Linked DNA regions of Homo sapiens: region 1 is linked to region 2. The links are contacts of gene promoters, found by promoter capture Hi-C in blood cells and fetal thymus (Javierre and others, 2016). All regions are on one chromosome and are shown on one strand. Each heading gives the region's core, a stretch centred on a gene start or on the middle of the fragment in contact. The rest is flanking DNA. Distances are from core to core; before and after follow the strand shown.

Region 1 (6,486 bases), core at 743-3,242, 4.6 Mb after region 2:
AGGGTGGGAAGGAAAGGAAAAAGTGAGAAACAGACCCACACATCTTTTAAAATTAATAGGTCATTCAGATTCCAATTACCCTCCCCATCTTCCAACCCAAACCACTGTTATAAATGCTGGGGACAAGTATAAGTTATGGCCCAAGGTGGTGGCTCTCAACCATATGTGAAAAAACCACGCCACTATTGCCTCAGGTGTTTGAGCCATTCTCCTCCACAGATCCCTTGAGACCTAGAGATCAGGGGCTGCAGAGGTCAGGACAGACTGAGGTTATGAGGGTGTGGGAGGCCTGATGCCACTAGCAATCGACAAGTTTAACCTGAAAGAGGGAGACAAAAATACAGTCCTCTCAGACAAAAAAAGGAGTTAATATTGAGTGAAACATACAGGCAAGTTCAGGGATGGAGGGAAAGGAAAATGAGGAATTTCATGCCCCAAGCTTCACATTTCTCCAGCAAACAGCGGCTAGTCATCTGCTCAAAGTAAAAGGAAAATAACAGATCTGAGTTCTTGAGAAAAAGGGAAAAGACTAAAATAGTCACTGTGGAGATAAGGAAAAGCAACAAAGGAAAAATAGAGATACCAAACAGTAGTATCAAGGGCCCACTACTGTGTAAAAGCATGAATCTGTTATCAAGGCCATTAGCAAAGTTTTATATTTTCTTCAAAAGTGTCTGGAAACCACAGAGTACAGTCAATTTCATACACGATATGTGCTACAAGAGAGTAAACAAAGGATGCCATGACATCAGAGAAGAGACACTTGAGGCTTTCTGGAGGACTTAAGCTTTGAAGAAAACTTAGCCAGGCTTAAAAAGGTATGTGAATCCTAGAGCATGCAAAGCACTTTCTGCATTAGAAAATTTAACATTCCCAGTTGTTTCAGATATCTTAAGCCGAACGAGTTTATTGTTCCTCTATGACTATCTGAACATGAAATTAAAACTTCTTATGAAGGAGGCTTTCCTGAGTCTAGTTAGAAGCACGAGGCTTCAACATCCTAGACTTAACATTTTTTTACCAGAGTAAGAAACCATGAGAGTAAACCACAATCCACACCGGTTTCATGTTAAACTCATGAAACCAGACAAATTCAACCTTTTATATAGGATTATATTTCAGGAATGGCATAACGATTCTAAACAACGACGCTGTATTCTAAATTCCTGTACTGTTACAAAGATCCCTATAGTAGGCGCTCAACAACTGGCGACGGCTTCACATTTACCCAGCCGCCAGAGAGGGCTTGTCTTGAGTGTGTCTGAGGATGCAGCACCCAAAGGGAAAAACCACTACATGAACAAGATCAGGAAATCACAACAGCATCCTTCTGGGTAAAAGGAGGTATTCAGAGGTGAGGAATCCAAGAAACGATTTACCCAAAAACGCCACCGCAAGAGAAAAACCAGTATTAGTGACTTTCCCTTCATCGGTCAACAATAATAAAAACGCTCAGAAAGGCTGCCCCGGACGTCACCTGCGCGTTCACGGACCGCCCCGGGCCGCAGACACCTCTCCAGCGGGGAGCGGCCGGCTCGTCCCGCCCGTCCCACCGCTCAGGGAAGGTTGCGGCCGCGCAGCTCCGCGAAGGTGCCACGGCGGGCCCGACCCTCAGACTCGCTTGTCCCTGGAGACCAACCCTAGCGACCAGGCTCTGCCGGATCCCGTCGGGTTTCAACTCCTATTCCGAAGGTCCTTTCTCCCCTAATCACAACACCCACTCGCCTCTTTTTCCTCCTCTTCCTCAGCTTCCACCGCCGACCGGGCAGCCCCAGTTACCCGATAACGGCTCCCAAGGCCCCGTGTTTACATTCTTTCCCACTGGAAGCAGAAATTATCACGCCCAAATTCCTACCTGCCTTCCCTGGATTCCTGGTTTCCTAAGAAACGGGTTTGGCCCACCCCTGGGCGTTCGAACAGTCCACAGAAGCGGGCAAAGGAAAGACGACTCAGTCTTTCCCCTCCGCCAATCTCTTCTCCGGGACCACAAATCCCAGAAGTCACCGCGGCCGCCCCCACTGCATGACCTTCTGGGATTTGTAGTAGTCAGGGCCACGCGGCTGGGCGCGCCCTCTAGCAGCAGCCCTGAGTGACCGCAGCGCACGAGCGCGGGAAAATGAGGCTGCGCGGGCTGAAGAGCGCACCGAGAGGAGCCGCCCCCGCGGTACCGCGCAGCCTCGCGTCCCGTCAGTGGGGAACAAGGTGAGGGGAAAACTTATTTTACGGGATTCAAAGGATTAGGATATGCTCCTTCCCCGAAGGGGTTTATAGCCTAGCTGATGAGGTCGGCCAGACGCAGAGAACAGAGAGGCAAAATTCGGTTATAAAGGGCTCGAGGCGGCCGGGCGGGGAGGCTAGTCAGGGAGGCTCGAGGCTGAACTGCAGGCTTCACGTTAAAGTTACAAGTGAGTTGGACCCAGAAGGCAGAATTACAGCCAGAACGTAGCTGTGCATCATGTCTTGAAAATAAACGAGCACATGTAATAAAGGTAATCAAGATTGTTAATTTCTCCAACTCTCCTGCCCAAAAGACTCATTTTTGGAAGTCATACTTTCTCAGCCTCAGCACCATTAACATTTCAAACTGGATAATGCTTTGTTGGGGGACGGGGTGTTCTGTGCATTGTAGGGTGCTTAGCAGCATCTCTGGTCTCTGTCCACGGGATGTCACCACCAGTCGATTGTGACAGCCAATGGTTTCCCCAGTGAAATTTCCCCTGGAAGAAAAACTATCCCTCCCACCCTGCCCCGTTGAGAACCACTGATGTCGACCAACGATTGTCCTGAGGGTCAATGACACCCTTTCAAAGCCAAAATTATTTTCATACTAATATGAAGACGTGATTTGCCCTTTGCACAATGCTGACATTTGCACTGATGGTGGAAAAGCAATGGTAGGTCAAGGTGCTGGCCCCTCCACAGGAATTACAGTAATGACACCAAACCGTACTGGAGCTCTTCACCACCACACGCTCACAGTAAGAAAAATGGGCCGGGCGCGGTGGTTCACGCCTGTAATCTTAGCACTTTGGGAGGTCAGGAGTTCGAGACCAGCCTGGCCAACATGGCGAAACCCCATCTCTACCAAAAATACAAAAATTAGCCAGGCCTGGCGGCACGCACCTGAATCCCAACTACTCGGGAGGCTGGGGTGGGAGGATCCCTTGAGCCTGGGAGGTCGAGGCTGCAGTGAGCCGAGGTCATGCCACTGCATTCCAGCCTGGATGACAGAGCAAGGCACGGTCTCAAAAAAAAAAAAAAAAATGGAAAAATGAACGCTGTCACCAGAGAATATCCCTGATGAAGTTGTAAAAGTTACTTTATTATAACCACTCCGACACTTAATATTCTTTGTAAAAACTTGGAAGTCCTCACAAAGTACTTCTGCTGCATATTGAAGTATGACGTATCAAAGAAGAGCTACTGTGAGATGGCATTATAAACTGAAGTAAATACTTTTTTTTCCTGGAACACAAATTTTACTAAGATGAGTGACAAACCGGTTATTCGGACTTGGGTATTTGACAAACCTTTCTTGAAAATGAACAAAGGGAATCTGTAACTTCAAGAAAAACAAGGAAAGGGAAAGGGGAAGGGGAAAGGAAAGGAAAAAAGAGAAATAGGGAGGGAGGGAGGAAAGAAAAAAAAATTGAGTTTGTTGCCAATGATAAAATTCAAGATTTTAGGCAAAAAAAAAATATGATTTTGGAAAAATGGTATTCACCATAATGATCTTGGCAGCTTCCCAGTATCTCCAGAATTTTCTGATATAAGTGATTATCAGTTGTGACTTTTATTTACATTGTTTGCTTAAATACATCAATATTTGTGCAGGCTGCATAAGTGAACCAGTAGTATTTGAAAACGATCAATGCATGACTGCGGTAGCCAGCCTCCAAGATGGCATTCACTCCTGGCATTCACATCCTTATGCACTGCCTTCCTATATTGTACCACGGTTGGTCTGTGTTACCTACAGAAGAGGGCAGAAGTGACCGTTTATCACTTCCGATATTAATTATGAAAGACACTAAGATGGTGGCAATGTTTCTTAATCTGCCTAGAGGTTTACATGGTCATGTTTCCTGTGTACCTGAAATACTGAAAACTCATTAAGCCAAATACTCATTTGTGCACTTTTCTGTATATATGTCTATGAAAGTCTTAAATAAGAAAACATGTACCTCCCTAACAAGACATGCAGAGGGAAGATTTATCTTATGGTCACATTCATAGTGTCATTAGTTCATAGTAGCCAATAAGAAGGAATAGAGGTTGCAGAGTGAGTAAATGGTACTTGAAGCTGTGCCCCCTACCTAGGGGTCTTTGCTAAATCTCTCAAGTAACCTAACCCTGATCTCCTCTACTGTGTTTAAGGGTAGCTCCCACTAAGTTTTTATACTTCACCCACTACTTCTCTACTAACTCTGACTGGTCTATGATCTTGATTCACCTAATATATTTAATATATGTCTTATGCTGTCTTTTTAAGACAACATGATCATTTTCCAAAATCCTTTAAATTTATCATAATTTATTGGCATTTACAGTAAATAGTTTATTTACAATAAATAAAAGAGTTCAAAAATTCTGATTTTTCAAACAAGAATTTCTTGGACAATTCTTGTACAGCCAAGGTAAATACCTACAGCAATTTATACATTCCCTAAAAAAACCTTATATACTACTCATAGCACTCTTTAGCAGTTTTCTTTTGTTGTTTTAAAGATAACAGAGTGTCAACAATCTAGCACAAGCCCCTGCCTAATCATGTCATATGGATACAATATTTAATATTAATTGAATTCTAACAGTAGTAGGATTCTAACCAAATCAAGTGTTAGCAACTGATAAATGGCAGTTGCTTTGGCTTTTATTGTATCTATCATGTTTTATTCAAGTGGTTGGTTTTTAGATGAAATCAAGACTCATGTAGTCGAGATAAAAATCACAATGTTTGACAATTTAAATGTGGCCAGGCACTATATTTTATATTTCTAGGTACTTTTTTTGTTGTTGTTTTGGTGGGGTTTTTTTTGAGACAGAGTCTCACTCTTTTGCCCAGACTGGTAGTTCAGTGGCATGTTCTCGGCTCATTGCAACCTCCACCTCCCAGGCTCAAGCGATTCTCGTGCCTCAGCATCCCGAGTAGGTGGGACTACAGGTGCCCGCCACCACGCCCAGCTAATTTTTGTGTTTTTAGTAGAGACGGGGTTTCACCATGTTGGCAGGCTGGTCTTGAACTCCTGACCTCAGGTGATCCACCCACCTCAGCCTCCCACAGGGCTAGGATTACAGGTGTGAGCCACCGCACCTAGCCGGTACATTGTTAGAAAGAAAGGTGCACAGATACTTAGTTTTTTTTTTTTCCACTGAGTTTTCCCAGAGGTTAAAAAACATAAGTACATTGTAACAGATGATAAATGGAGTTTTTCTTTATTATATCATATTTCTAAATCAAGGAAGCTGAAATTATATACTTAAATATACTCTGGTCAAAATATACATGAACCACAAATATTAACTTCTACCTACCAACAATTTACAGTTATGTTGTATGTGGAATTTCATTCTTGTCAGAACTCACAATGGAAATAAAATTTCTATTATGGGTGAGAAGATGAGGGAAAGAATTAAGGGGAAAAAATTTGGACAGCACACACTTTTCTTTCATTCCAAAGGTGCCAGTCAGAACACAGATCCATGGAGTTCCACATCTAGCCCCAGGCTACCAAGCATTAATTCAATGTAAATGGTGTCACTACAACATCAAAAAGAGCAGTGCTAGGCAGAGGATTTTGTATAAAATCATCTAAAACTCTGAAAAACTACAAAAGCATCTCAAGAAAAAAATTAGGTAAAAGCAATGGAGTTTATTTCAGTGAAATTATTTTAAATTAGATATGATATATTAAGCTCCCATATGCCCCAACCTGGTAGAAAAGTTCCTCTCAGTGAGAAATCATTTATTTTAATGGCAAAATTTTTACATATCAGTAAAATCTGTTATACTTAAAACTATGTATACAGTACATTTCTGGCAAAAAACCTTATACATCTTTCAGTTGTCAAGACAAAGTAAAAATATGGTTGCATAAAGTCACAAAAAATATAAACTGCTGAAAAGATAATAAAAAAAGATTAAAAATCATTTGCATTGCCTCCCTTACCTCTTCAATATTAGTAACAATTTGCAAACAACAAAAAAATTGTGAAAATTCTGTTGCAACCTTGACACACTTAACCAAAGGTTGTCATTTCAAATATCCTAGCTTAAAAAAGAATTTACTGCAATTGTCTGTGCATTTATCATACTATTTATAGAAGTGCAATATTTAAATATTTTCAAAATAAAACACAGTAACTAAAATGAATCACAATAACTTATAAGAGAAGCAAAGTTTACAAAATTAACAATTTTTAAAAGGTCCTATTTAATTGGTTCCTCCTTTTCTTCCCCCCTCCCCACAACAGCGTATATAGCGC
Region 2 (5,769 bases), core at 2,808-5,307:
GAACACAAACAAAACACTGACAACAATTTTGTCAAAACCAAAGATTCTGAAACTGAATGAAAAATTTCTGACCGGAACCTAATGATTCATCATTCTCAAATACTGTTAACTTAAATATCTGAGTCTGATGAATCATTAGGTTCCAATTGGAAATTTTATCTAACTTCACATATCTGTATTTTTACTCAGATATGTGCAAAATAATAAAAACCAGGAGACAACTCAAAATCCTAATTATGAAAAATCAAAAGAACCAGAATTAGAAGTGAATGATTAAGTCAACAATTTTCCACCAATAATTAAATTTAAATCTTCCAAACATAATCGTTATTCACATATTTAAAGATTTCAGGTATGAGAGAGTTCAGTTTAGGACACAGACTACTGCAAGAGACTATTACTCCCACTCGAAAAATGAAAAAAAAAAAAAAACCATCATAATATTTTTTAAAGGTACCTAAGAGCTGAGTTGGCGAACCAACCAGGTAACCTGAATTCCAAAATGTGACAAGCCCCTGAGGACAGTGGCATACTGTCCTGCTTTACCTTTTGCAAGGCATGAAGAGAAGAGGTAGCAATCATGTAAGCATATAAGAAAAAAGAACTAAAATTTTACTGAATTCTTAAAGATTTCATACATAGAAATTGCAAGACATTTTGATAGAGAATAATCTGTAAAGTCCTTCCTAATAATAAAATAATTTCAAAAAACGAATAGCTAACATTTAGAATGTGTTCACTAAATTTTAAGCATTGTATTAATACTAGTACCTGCCAAGCTTTATCAAATTAGACCTCACAACCTAGTAAGAAAGGGCTGTTCGTTTCCTTGCTTAACAGAAAAAAAACAGTGCAGAGAGGTTAAGTAACTTGTCCAAGTTAACAGAGCTGGTGAATGGTAAAGCTGGGATTCAAATAGAGGCATCTTTACTACAGAGCCTGGATCATAATTACATGTCTCTTCTCTAATCTAGACATAGTTTCTTAATGCAATTTAAATTGCTTAATGATTTATTTTGTTCAGTCTTCACAGGGAACAAATTAGAAACTTTCTCCCATTTCTTTTAGATATATCAGGACAGAATGCTTAGTCATGTTTAATAAAGAATTTAACGCAAACTTTTTACATTACAGATTATACTACTATTACTTGATTTAAGGGTAATATATGACTGTACTCTACATGGGAAAAGTGGAAAACATAGAGTAAATTAGAATCCGTTTGTTCTTGCCCCAAGCTGCCTATCTTAGAGCATTAAATTACAATGAATTAAAGATCTACTTAGTTCCAAGCACCATTCATTCATTTAGCAAATATTTACTGAACGCCTACTATATGGTGAGCTCTGTTCAAGGGGCTGGAGATAGAAAAATCCAAGCAAAGTCCCTGCCCTTAAAAAGTCTAGTGGGAAGAAACAGGCAATTAAAAAAAATACATTAGGGGGTGATAAGGGTTATGTAAACAGGTAGCTGCCACCACCACAGAGACTATCAGTTCTGGAAATACATTATTCAAGATTAGTTTGGCTACACATAACAGAAAAGTCCAATATAGTACAGACTTATACAATGCAGAATTTATTTCTCGTGTAAGTCTTGAGATAGGTGGTTATGGCAAGTTAGCAGATTATCAGAGGCCCAGGCCCCTTCTATAGTCCACATCCTTAGCAGGTGGCTTTAATCCTTATGTTCCAGGACAGATGCTGGAACTCCAGGAATCCTATCATCATCTAGACAGCAGGATGGAGAAACAAAGAAGGGTGGACCGTCTTCCTTTTAAAGAGATGTAAGAATCGGCTGGGCACGGAGGCTCACGCCTGTAATCTCAGCACTTTAGGAGGCTGAGGTGGGTGGATCATCTGAGGTCGGGAGTTCGAGACCAGCCTGACCAACATGCAGAAACCCCGTCTCCACTAAAAATACAAAATTAGCCAGGCGTGGTGGCGCATGCCTGTAATCCCAGCTACTCAGGAAGGCTGAGGCAGGGGAATTGCTTGAACATGGGAGGTGGAGGTTATGGTGAGCCGAGATTGCGCCATTGCACTCCAGCCTGGGCAATAAGAGTGAAATTTCTTCTCAAAAAATAAAAATAAAATTAATCAGAAAAAATAAGATACATCAGTAGCAATCACAATGCAGTTCTTTATGACCAGATAGCAACCTCTATGTACCTACTAATCTCGTCTTCAATGGACACAATTCCTTACGTTAAAAAGAATCTAATGTACCAATTTAAACTTGCATTTATTATATTAAGGCAATAGTCATGATTAGAAGGAAGGCAAAAAAAAATTATTCCCATATTAGGAAGATGAAGTATGTCTGTTACCGGGGCAAACTATCAAACTGAATTTCAAAACTGACAGGCTCTCCCTGAAGTCCTAGAGAGGATCTTGTGTTCACTAATTCAGATGTTGCAAGTATTCTAGTTCCCAGGTAACTCCTAGTAAAACCAAGACTGAACAAAGATATTTCTCATCTTTAAATTTAGAATCATCTCATCGATTAAACCTTCCTATCTATGAGATCTATATCTGAAGTGGGCTCTCCCAATTATTTTACATCTCAAAACTGTTTATTCTCATTATGGCATCTTAAATATTTTTGTTTATTCTTTCTCCTCCATTAGCTTACAGGCTCTCTCTGTTTTGTTCCCTTTCCTGAAGGAAACTATAATTTTTTGTGTCAAAAATATTTTCTCCTATGAGTTGCAATCTTCAGGGAAAGGACGTAGCTTCAAACAAAGGCAAATGCTTTCTCCTTAGCCAAAGTAACATAAAGGTCACTTTCTGTAAAACATCAGGATATTGCATTTTAAAATGCTTTCCATATAACATTAGTTTGATGAACGGCTTAGCCTAGGATTCTGCACCTAGTTCCAATCAAAACCAAGTTGTGAACAGATCCCTTCTTTACACCAATCTCATCTTTCAAGAACGAGCTAAAGGTTCATGAATTCCTTCCTCAAGAGGCAGTTACTTTTCAAGCTAAGGACCAAGCTTGAAACAAGCATATACCTGCACAAGGGAGGTTTAATTTCACTACAGAGCGAATCATTTTTTCAAGGAAACCAGAGGGTGTGTCATACAGCATCACTGAATATTCTAATATGCGATGAAGCTGTTATGCTTCCTTATGAACTTTATAAATCTTCATTTTTATGAGGCTTAGAATTCATCCCCCTTCCCTCTTCCACTGTTTTCCCGGGGTCACAGTTGTAGTATAGTTTGCCCAATGGATTTCGCATGGTCATTGTACCTGGAATATGTCACGCTCCCTACTCTTACTGCCCCCAAACTCTTCTCAGCAGAGATAGGCTGAAAGCAGCTCGCTTTTAGGCGGCGACGCAAACACACGTAGCCAGCTGAGCGACAGCAAGCAACCAAATGGCTTTGCTGGAGGCCCCCTGCGTGCACGGGTAAAGCTCGTTGCAAAATACAGTCCTTTCATTTATTCCCATGTTGCTATTTATGAGACCTGTCAAGGCTGCAAGGGCATGCGCAGCCTTCCCACCACACAGGACCCGCTGGGGTCTCCGGCTCCCCTAAAATTAAACCATTGTCTCTCGTTCCAACGGCGTGTTTAGCTGTTGTGCGTTATTTTACAGATAAAGGAAGGATCCCGTCCACAGACCCAATTCTTAGGGCCGCCTTCTCCCCGACGGAGGAAGAAGCTTCCTGGCAAAAGGACGAACAGGTGCGACGCCAGCAGTTCGCAGCCTCTCACCTGGCCGGCGGGCTGGGCTACTGTCACCACTCAGCAGCCAAGGACTTGGGCCCCGCAGCGGCGGCCACTCGGGGTCTGCCGGGTCCCCTCTCTTTCCGCCTGCTCTCGGCCCCGGACCCCAGACTCAAAAGCGCCTCACGCGTTCCGCCTTAGGCTCACCGTCCGATCTCGCCAGACAGCGTCTGGACGGGACCGGGAAACGGCGGCCGCCACAGCTGTCCAGGTTCTGGGATCCACGCTCAGAGACGACAGCGCTGGCGATCACCAGAAGGCCTGCGGGCTCCCGAGAAAGGAAAATCCGTCTACAGTCCAGCGGCTGACATTTCCCAGTCAGCCGTAGCGCCGCCCGCTTCCGCCTCCCCGCCTACCCCGTGGGCCGACCAGTCCCGCTCCCGCGGGGGGTTGTGGGTATCTCGAAGGCGGGTAAAGCTGCAAGGGAAGGAAGTAAGGGCGAGCCCGTCGGACTACGAAGCGGGACGGAAACTACAATTCCCAGCAGGCCTTGGGCCTCAGTGCGGCCGCGAAGCAGAGCGGGCTGTAGAGCCTTGCGCGCGCAGTGGGGATGGAACGTTGCTAGGCTTAGCGGGTCTGGCTGCTGGGGGCCCGAGCAGCACGCTCGGAGCCGCCGCGCGCCAAAGCGGGAATCTGGGAGGCGAGCAGCTCTGCAGTTAATGCACGTATTTTAAACTCCCGGGCCTGCGGACGCTATGCACAGGTAAACGGATTGCAAAAAGGGGAAGAGCATGAAATGGACCCTCTTAATAATTCTTTTAGGCCGCGAATATCGCTACTGGCTAATATTGTTAGTAATGCTGTTAAGTGAATGGTTGCTTAGCCCCTTCTTGGGGAAAGTGTGAATGGATGGATGCCTTAGTGCGGGGATCAGCGTGTGGTTTTATTTGGCTTCCCTAATTGGGCTTTTCTGCCACCGTTTTCAATCAGTGTATGATTGCCCTGTCTCTCTCCTTGTCTGTTCCCTCCACTGGGAGAAATTCTTGAGGCCTTCTGCAGGATCGTAAGTCAAAAAGCCTTCTCGATTTGTTCTTTTCATTTCTTCGTTTTCTTGGTAACTCGCCGCAGGCACATAAAAAATGCGATTCTGTTAGCTGCTGTGAAGGTTTCCTACAATGCATAAACTGCAGCTTCTTTAATTGCCTTGAAATTATTTATGGGTGTGTTTTCGAAAGGAACCGGGGGTATTGTGCACTTCTGCAGGAAGCACCTCCAGGAGATTCCAGACCTGAGTAGCAACGTTGCCACCAGCTTCACGTGGGGATGGGATTCCAGCAAGACTTCTGAACTGCTGTCAGGCATGGGGGTCTCCGCCCTGGAGAAAGAGGAGCCCGACAGTGAGAACATCCCCCAGGAACTGCTCTCAAACCTGGGCCACCCGGAGAGCCCCCCACGGAAACGGCTGAAGAGCAAAGGGAGTGACAAAGACTTTGTGATTGTCCGCAGGCCTAAGCTAAATCGAGAGAACTTTCCAGGTAAGGACATGAGGGTAAAAATGTCAGTTATGCAAAGGGTGGATTTAGCTATGTTGTTGGGAAACCTTTGTTCAGAGATCTTTAGCATGGGTTCCTTTTAAGATTGCCTAATTCTGAAGCTATTTTTCAACAAAATAGGGCAAGTCGTCAAGTATGCAGGAATCTTGGTAGATATATATATATATATATATATATATATATGTATGTTCTGGTGCATAATCACCTTGAAAATTTTAACCCATGAGAAGACATTCCTGCCTTTTTCCTTAGAAGGGAATCTGCCTGCCTCAAGGCCAGCTCAGTTTCACCGTTTAACAGAAACATAAACAGTGGTCTTCTTGTAGGATTCCTTTTGCTTTGTACCCCTGAGTGATCTTTTTGCCTTAATCACTTTAGTTATTTATCAGTGGACTGCGAAGTGAACGTTCACCTAAGTGGGGGAGACATCTCCCCAGGCCCACTCCCACCCCCATATTGGCTTCTCCTGGTATGTTCTGTCTCCATTACTGCTGACACTATCTGTTTAATCACCCAACCCGAAAACCTGAGAGTCAGT

Evidence for each region. Contacts are between HindIII fragments. The CHiCAGO score rates a contact against its expected background, and 5 or more counts as called.
Region 1: the fragment with the promoter of TTC33 here is called in contact with the fragment with the promoter of LMBRD2 in region 2 in 1 of 17 cell types (total CD4 T cells); the score reaches 6.9 in total CD4 T cells.

What each region holds. Positions count from the first base shown.
Region 1 is chr5:40,753,969-40,760,454 of GRCh38, forward strand. It overlaps TTC33 (tetratricopeptide repeat domain 33), which reads right to left and starts at 1,993. Exons shown (of 5, transcript NM_012382.3): 1 at 1,856-1,993. It overlaps PRKAA1 (protein kinase AMP-activated catalytic subunit alpha 1), which reads right to left. Exons shown (of 9, transcript NM_006251.6): 9 at 5,421-6,486. RefSeq lists an enhancer at 1,867-2,016. The HindIII fragment of the contact is 9,414 bases long and covers 786-6,486 here.
Region 2 is chr5:36,147,830-36,153,598 of GRCh38, forward strand. It overlaps LMBRD2 (LMBR1 domain containing 2), which reads right to left and starts at 4,058. Exons shown (of 18, transcript NM_001007527.2): 1 at 3,727-4,058. SKP2 (S-phase kinase associated protein 2) reads left to right here and starts at 4,282. Exons shown (of 10, transcript NM_005983.4): 1 at 4,282-4,441; 2 at 4,942-5,213. The coding sequence starts at 4,434. MIR580 (microRNA 580) reads right to left here and starts at 159; the gene lies at 63-159. RefSeq lists silencers at 3,329-3,388, 3,989-4,128 and enhancers at 3,342-4,325, 4,399-4,588. The HindIII fragment of the contact is 3,342 bases long and covers 3,672-5,769 here.